Linked DNA regions of Homo sapiens: region 2 is linked to region 1. The links are contacts of gene promoters, found by promoter capture Hi-C in human tissues and cell types (Jung and others, 2019). All regions are on one chromosome and are shown on one strand. The core of a region is centred on a gene start or on the middle of the fragment in contact, and the rest is flanking DNA. Distances in the headings are between cores, read along the strand shown.

The links. Contacts are between HindIII fragments. The study calls those that stand out against the background at their distance.
Region 2: a contact is called between a fragment that was not itself captured here and the fragment with the promoter of REEP1 in region 1, in 2 of the 25 tissues and cell types used here (aorta and dorsolateral prefrontal cortex).

Annotation. Positions count from the first base shown.
Region 1 is chr2:86,335,688-86,339,331 of GRCh38, reverse strand. REEP1 (receptor accessory protein 1) reads left to right here and starts at 1,706. Exons shown (of 9, transcript NM_001371279.1): 1 at 1,706-1,853. The coding sequence starts at 1,822. The HindIII fragment of the contact is 14,274 bases long and covers 1-3,644 here.
Region 2 is chr2:86,453,756-86,457,399 of GRCh38, reverse strand. It overlaps KDM3A (lysine demethylase 3A), which reads right to left. Exons shown (of 26, transcript NM_018433.6): 5 at 2,213-2,315; 6 at 834-958; 7 at 523-595; 8 at 329-417. Among named protein-coding and RNA genes, the nearest start is that of KDM3A, 14 kb to the right of the region's middle. The HindIII fragment of the contact is 4,436 bases long and covers 1-3,644 here.

The DNA of each region.
Region 1 (3,644 bases), core at 457-2,956:
CCGCGTGTGAGAGCCTGCTAACGGAAGTGGTTGGGGGTATGCAGTTAATAGACTGCTGGAGAAGGGGAACTGACCAGCCTCCAGCCTGAGCCTCAAAACTGGGTCAAGGCAGCATGAAAAAACTGCTACATTACAGCTATTTTATGGGTTCTTTGGAGACCTGAGATATGAGAGCATGTCTCATCTGCAGTCCCTTTGTTGTCCGTGAAGTCTTTCTTCTGACTATATCAGGCACACGCACGCACAGATTCTGCTACATCTGAGAGTACTAAGCTGTCTCCTGCGCTTCTCACATCTGACACTGAATTATACATGACACCATCATCAGCAAAGGACAGGGCGCTGGGAGCACCACGCAGAACCTAAGCTATTGGAGGGTGGGAAAAGCAGCAGCAGAGCCTAGGAGTAGAGGACAAAGCGTTTCCAGTGTAACAGAATAATGTACTATCTGCGGCCGGGACTAGGGTGAGCAGAGTGAGGCGCTCAGTGAGGGTGCAACATTTAAGAGGTGCCATAAAATTCAGCAACTAAAATACATAATAGGTGGCTCACTCCTGTAATCCCAGCACTTTGGGAGGCCAAGGCGGGCGGATCACGAGGTCAGGAGTTTGAGACCAGCCTGGACAACATGGTGAAACCCCGTCTCTACTAAAAATACAAAAATTAGCTGGGCGTGGTGGCGCACTCCTGTAATCTCAGCTACTCATGAGGCTGAGGCAGAAGAATCGCTTGAACCCGGGAGGCGGAGCTTGCAGTGAGCCGAGATCGCGCCACTGCACCCCAGAGCGAGACTCTGTCTCATAAAAAAACAACAACAACAAAAAAAACCACCATAATATTTAATACGGTATTTTAAAAAATACATAAAAACGTTTATATAGGGTGCACAAGTTCCCTTTTGCCTAAGAGTTCAACGTGGCTCAGCGGGGCACTGGTGCTAAGCAGTCGCAGCTTCTAGTCTCCTCCTAGGGCCCGGAGCAGCCCCCAAGGAAAGGCCTTCCCTAGGAAGAAGTAGCCCTTCAGCCCAGCCTAGAAGAAGGAGCTGAATCAAACCAAGGCAGGACGATGAGGCGTGGCGTGTACTGACAGGGAAGAAGAAACAGCAAATATTTGAGTCCAAGATGCCTGGAGGGAAAAGAGCTAGAGGACTATTTGGGGGAATGGTCTTGGCAACACGGTTCTAGGCAGGTACCACGATCATATAGGGACTCTGTAGAATTTTAAGTAGGGAGGCAAGCGCCCAGGTTTGTTTCTTATGCAGAAAGTGCTGAGCAACGGACAGACTGAAGAGGTTAGGTCTGGATCCAGGTAAACCCTTTATGAGGCTAACGCACTAGCTGAATGAGGGATGACAGCATCCCACCTAGACAGGTGCAGACAGATTCCCGAGGTTCAGGTTCGGACTTCAGTTTCTCCGCTGGAACGCTGAGGGTGGGGCAGCACCCGGGTCCCTGCCCTGCAAACGGGGCCGCTGCAGGGTTCCTTTGGCGGGGCCGGTGCCCCGGGGAGCGCGCAGGACGCGCCCGCCTTCAGCCGGGGGCCAGGGCGAGCGGGACGGGGCGGGCCCGCGGGTGCCCTGACCAGCTCACCGCCCAATCGCTGCGGGCCCGCCGAGCCCCGGGGGGCTGGGGCCGCCGCCGCCGCCGCCAGAACGTGCCGCGGCTGCGCCAACGCGCGAACGCCGGGCAGGGCGGCGGGCGCGCTCAGTCTGGCGGCGGCTGCCGTGAGCTGACTGACGTTCCGGGAACGCCGCAGCAGCCCGCGCCGCCCGCAGCCTAGCCGAGCCGCGCCGCCCGGGCCTCGCCCGCCCGCCTGCCCGCCATGGTGTCATGGATCATCTCCAGGCTGGTGGTGTAAGTGGCCTTCTCCCCCGCGCCCCTCCGTCCCCTCCCTCCCCGCCCCCGGCCCCGGGCTGCGCGCGCCCCTACAGCGCCCGGTCCCAGTGGCTCGGGCTATTAATACCCGGCGCAGCTAAATTTAGCAGGTACAGTAGCCGCCGAGGACGCCTGCGGGCGGACGGGCGGCGCAGGACGCGGCTGCTGCCCAGGAGGCAGCCGGCGCCGGCGGCCGCTTGCGGGGGGCTGGGCCGGGACGGCGAGGGCTGGGGCGCTCGGGGGTTCCGTGGGGGCTGCGTCTCGCCGCGCGCTGGCCGCTTTGTTCCTCAGCTCGGTCGATTTGCAGAGGCCCCGAATGGGCGCACCGCGGACACGCGTCTCTCTCCTTTGGCAGAAATGTGAGGTCGCCCGGCGCCGCGCCCCGCCGCCCCAGCTTTTGTCAGGTGGAAAGGACAGCGCAGACGAACCAGGGGCGCTGCCTGGAGGGTCAGCGCGGAACGGGTGGAGAGGCAGAGGCGGGGCTCCCAGTGGGGTTGGAAAAATCCTCCTTTTTAGGTGTCTGCATCGACAGCGGCAAAGGCAGCTGGGACATGGGAAGACGCATGTGAATCTTGGAGTAAACGCCTGGAGCCCCCGGCTCCGACTCCTTTTGCAGGGGATTGAGAGACAGGGGCAGGTACCTCCAGGAATGCACGGGAAATTTTCAAGTGACAGCCACCCGCATGGTGGCGATGACACCTCCCAGGCCTTGCAGGAGAGCGCAGAGTCATCTAGGGTGAGGTCTGTGTGAAGTCATTGGGGGTGGGCGTGGGGGCCGATTTTCTCCTTCAAGCCCCAGGACCTGTAGGCGTTTGAAGAGCTTCCCCGGTGGATTTATTCTCCTTTGGAGATAGACGTGGCTGTTCCAAGTCCCTGTTCTTCCCTAACCATCCTGGCCTGAGTCAGAACAGATTTGCCACCTGCTGTAGCTAGCAGGGGCTGAAATGGGTGTGGGGAGTCTAAGGCGGGGAGGAGGGTGGCAGGCACCTCGGGCTTTTTCTTTGTCTGAGAACACGGGGCTCTGGACCCCAGTGATTGTGCACCATCACTCCCCACGTTTTGAAACACCACCCATCTCCCTTCCCTTCTTTACTGATTTTCCCTTCCGAAGTGGATCTCAGCATTGTCTCCCGCCACCATTCAGGGCTTTCCTCCCAAAGCCAGTGTCTGTGCCTCTCAGCCCCCAAGTCATTCCGTGAAGGCCTCTCCACAGCTGTTCCTGACTGCGGGGTGTTTGCGCTGCACCTTGAGGTGGCATGTTAAATATTTAGAAGATTTCTGCTGGCAGAGCCGACATGAATAATACAGGAAAGTGGCTGACACGCCTTGCCCAGCCTCATGCCTGACCAACACTGTCTTGCCTTCAGGGTGGTGTTTCCTCTCTGGGATCGATATTGCCAGTGGCTTCTGGGAAGCCCTCAGGGTGGGGCTGGAGAGTTGAGCTGGCCTGGCTGGTGGGCTCTCTGTAGGTCCTGCTGGGCTGGGAGTGAGGGCATCTGATCCTGGGTCATGTGACTATCATTAGTTTTATTAGCACTGGGTCATGTGACTATCATTAGTTTTATTAGCACCTCCCTCACCCCTGCCCTTTTTTTTTTTTTTTTTTTGAGACCGAGTCTCGCTCTGTCGCCCAGGCTGGAGAGTGCAGTGGCACAGTCTCGGCTCACTGAAGCCTCCGCCTCCTGGGTTCAAGCGATTCTCCTGCCTCAGCCTCCCGAGTAGCTGGGATTACAAGCGCCTGCCACCACGCCCAGCTAATTTTTGTATTTT
Region 2 (3,644 bases), core at 664-3,163, 120 kb before region 1:
AGTTTGGGAAGCTGAGGCGGGAGGATCGCTTGAGCCCAGGAATTCAAGACCAGTCTGGTCAACATACCAAGACCCTGTCTCTACAAAAAACACAAAAATTAGCCAGGTGTCATGCATGACACATGCCTGCAGTCCCAGCTACTATGGAGGCAGGAGTTCAAGGCTGCAGTAAGCTCTGGTTGCACCACTGCACTCCAGTCTGAGTGACAGAGTGAGATCCTATCTCTAAAAAAATAAAAATAATTAAATAAATAATAAAAAATAAAAACTAGCCATGCAATGTTGGAGTTAAGGAAAGCTTTACACAAGTGACATAAATAAAGGTTACCTCAGAGCAAGATTTTGCTTGTTTGGAAACCAGGGTTCCATTATTCTCAGAAGACTTGCGTTTTACAGCTCCAATTCTTGCAGAATTACCTAAAATATTTAAAAATAGGTTAAGTTGGCTTCCCTGTTTCTCTTAATGTGAGAAGAACGGAGGAAAGGAGGAAGGAGAAGAAAGATTTTAATAACATATCTTACCACATGTCACAAGGTTATCGTGTACAACTTCAACATGAATCAGTGACGGATCAACAATTTTCAGTGCTGGAATCTTAAAAATAAATGAAACAAAGATACCGGAAAATAAAAAATGCTCAAGAACATACTGAAAATCAGGTTCATTAACATAACAATAGGAGCTTCTTATGAATAATTTCTTTTTAAAACAACTGTAATTATTTCTACCCTATAAAATAATAAAGGTATTTAGTGCCTAGAAAATCATAAATGCTTTGTATAGTTATCATGCTTTGTCGAGTTATCTTACAAAGAGTTATTGTTGTCTTTACCTCCTCACAGTTGACTTGAAGAGTTTTTGATGCTGGGTTTCCATTTATAACGGTTGCTGAAAACCACTGAGTAGATGGGTCCAAGCTATAAATTTTTACTTCTGAACCAACTAAGTTTTTGTCACCTTAAAAAAAAAAAAAAAAAAAAAATCTTAGAGCAATTTGCATTATCTCCCAATAGCAACATCATCCAGGACAATCTTTTCCTAAGTCTTTTTTAAAAAAACGCAAAAGTAAACATTAAAAGAATCACTACAAACATAAGATGACTGACATTTCAGAAAAGCTATGAGAAAATTTAAACTTTTTATTTTGTATCGGACCAAAGTAGTATTAGACAATTCATCAAGACCTCACTCACTGTCCTGTGTAGTTTTAGAGGAATCAAATTCAGGAACCCCAACAAAAATACTATGTCTGATAATCTAAAAAACACAGAAAAAAAATGTATGATTGTAGAAACTCAGTAACACAAATGGGAAGGTAAGGAGTATCAAATTAATGCCTTATCCATTTTATATGGCTGATATTCCAAACATATCAAATTCCACATCAAAATATAGCTGAGCTTTAAAAATATCTTTTTTCTTTTCTTTTTTTTTTTTTTTTTTTTGAGACAGGGTCTTGCTCTCACCCAGGCTGGAGTGTAGCAGTGTAATCAGGGATCACTGTAGCCTTGACCTCCTGGGTTCAAGTGATCCTCCTGCCTCAGCCTCCTGAGTAGCTGGGATTACAGGCATGTGCCACCACACCGGGCTAATTTTTTTAAAAATGTTTTGTAGAGATCGACGTCTCCCTGTGTTGCCCAAGCTGGTCTTGAACTCCTATCCTAGGCTCAAGCAATCCTCCCACTTTGGATGTCCCAAAGTGCTGGGATCACAGGCTTGAGCCACTGTGCCTGGCCCTACTTTACTGTTAGTTTCATATAATCCCTGAACTTTCCAAATTTCAGAGGTTTTAGCAACACACACATTTTTTGAATTTTAAATTTTAAATTTCTTAAAAATTTATTTTAGAAAAAAAGTAAGAAATGGCCCGGCGTGATGGCTCACACTTGGCAGGCAGATCACTTAAGGCCAGGAGTTTGACACCAGCCTGGCCAACATGGTGAAATAGTGAAATCTTGTCTCTACTAAAAATACAAAAACTAGCCGGGTGTGGTGGTGCGTGCCTGTAGTCCTAGCTACTTGTAAGGCAGAGGTTGCAGTGAGCCAAGACAGCACCACTGGCACTCCAGCCTAGGAACTAGACTGTCTCAAAAAAAAAAAAAAAGAAAAAAGAAATTTCCATGAGCAAATGAATGAGAGGCTAAACCCTAGTTTCTCACAAGCTAATCATTGGTCAACTCGTGAACTATCACCACTAGATAATGCATATACCTTTTAAAAGATGGCTTTCATCTAAATGCTTCACAATCAAAGCTTGAAATTCTTTACTGACAATCTGATTATCCGTAAGAGAAAGTCGAAGACTGTTTACATCCTGAAAAATGAAAGATCATTACATGTTAAGGGTAACAGTTAATAAGAAGAGTTATTTAAATTCCAGTGGGCTATTTCAATTGGTTAATCAAATGGGTTAAAGTAGTGTCAACAAACCATGTGATAGCCCAAATCATTCCAATTCCAGTAAACCAGATGGCTCAAAAAGTCCTAGACCATCAAATGATCACAGCTATAAGGCAGACTGAAGTAAAGTCATCCCAAGCTAGAAGCATGAGAAATATTAAGAGGAACTCAAAGCATAATTTTAAAAATGACTAACTTTGGCAATGGGAAAAAAGTAAGCAAACAAACAGCTGGTCAATCCAAGTAAAAAACACTCTGTATCCTAAATACTGGGGATGGGGAAATCACAATCCAAATCCAAGGGACAAAAAACACAGATATGACACACAAGAGACAGATGTATATGGTCGATTCATTGCAATTACTGTCTGGGTTTTTTTTTTATTTTATATAACACACTGCATGTACTATATAATACACTGTGTAACCTACTAGCAGGGGTAGATGACCATAACTGAGAGTTAGTTTATTCATCAATCAGAAAAATGTTTCCTTGATCAATGTTCTCCAAACCTTTTGACACATTGTAAAGATTAACTCCAGAGGTACACATATCTCTTTCCACCAAAGTCCACTGATAATGGGCAGCCCTTTTTTCCATATTCCCATTAGTAAACCCATGGCTGTGCCCAGTGGCCACCCTGGGGATGAGCAAGCATGCACCCATGATGGCAATTTTAGGGAAAATTTTGAACCACATCTCAGCCTGGTTACCTAGGCCAAAACCCTATTTTCTAAGGCCCCTTAAAGCTGACCAAGCTTCAGCTCCCTTCCTGGTAAGAAACTGCTGTTTTTAACAACTCATTTCACACAGATTCATTTAACCTAACTAGTATTACAAAATGCATTCTTTTTTACAAAAAGGGAGGTGGGGGGACAAACAGAAAATCTGAATGAATAGCCTAAGGCGTCAGAGTAAGCCAGTTCTGAAACATTCAATTCTTGGCAGCAGCTCCATTCTTGGCACTATTCCACAGTCTTCTGGCTTTGTGTGCACACCCAGTTATGATAAATGTAATACAGAAACTGTCAATAGGAATAACTTGCCAAACCGAATTCTAGCAGGGCAAAGAAAAAACAGTGCTCAACACAGAAGCCCTTCCAATATCAGGGCTTTATGCTTTTCTGCCACTGTGAAATGGATAATGACCAAGAATGGGTCATCCATTTTTCCCACTGGGAAGGATAACTAGTCTGTTAGAGAAGCTGTGCTGGAAAAATGTATTTCTTTTGCCAAGTAACA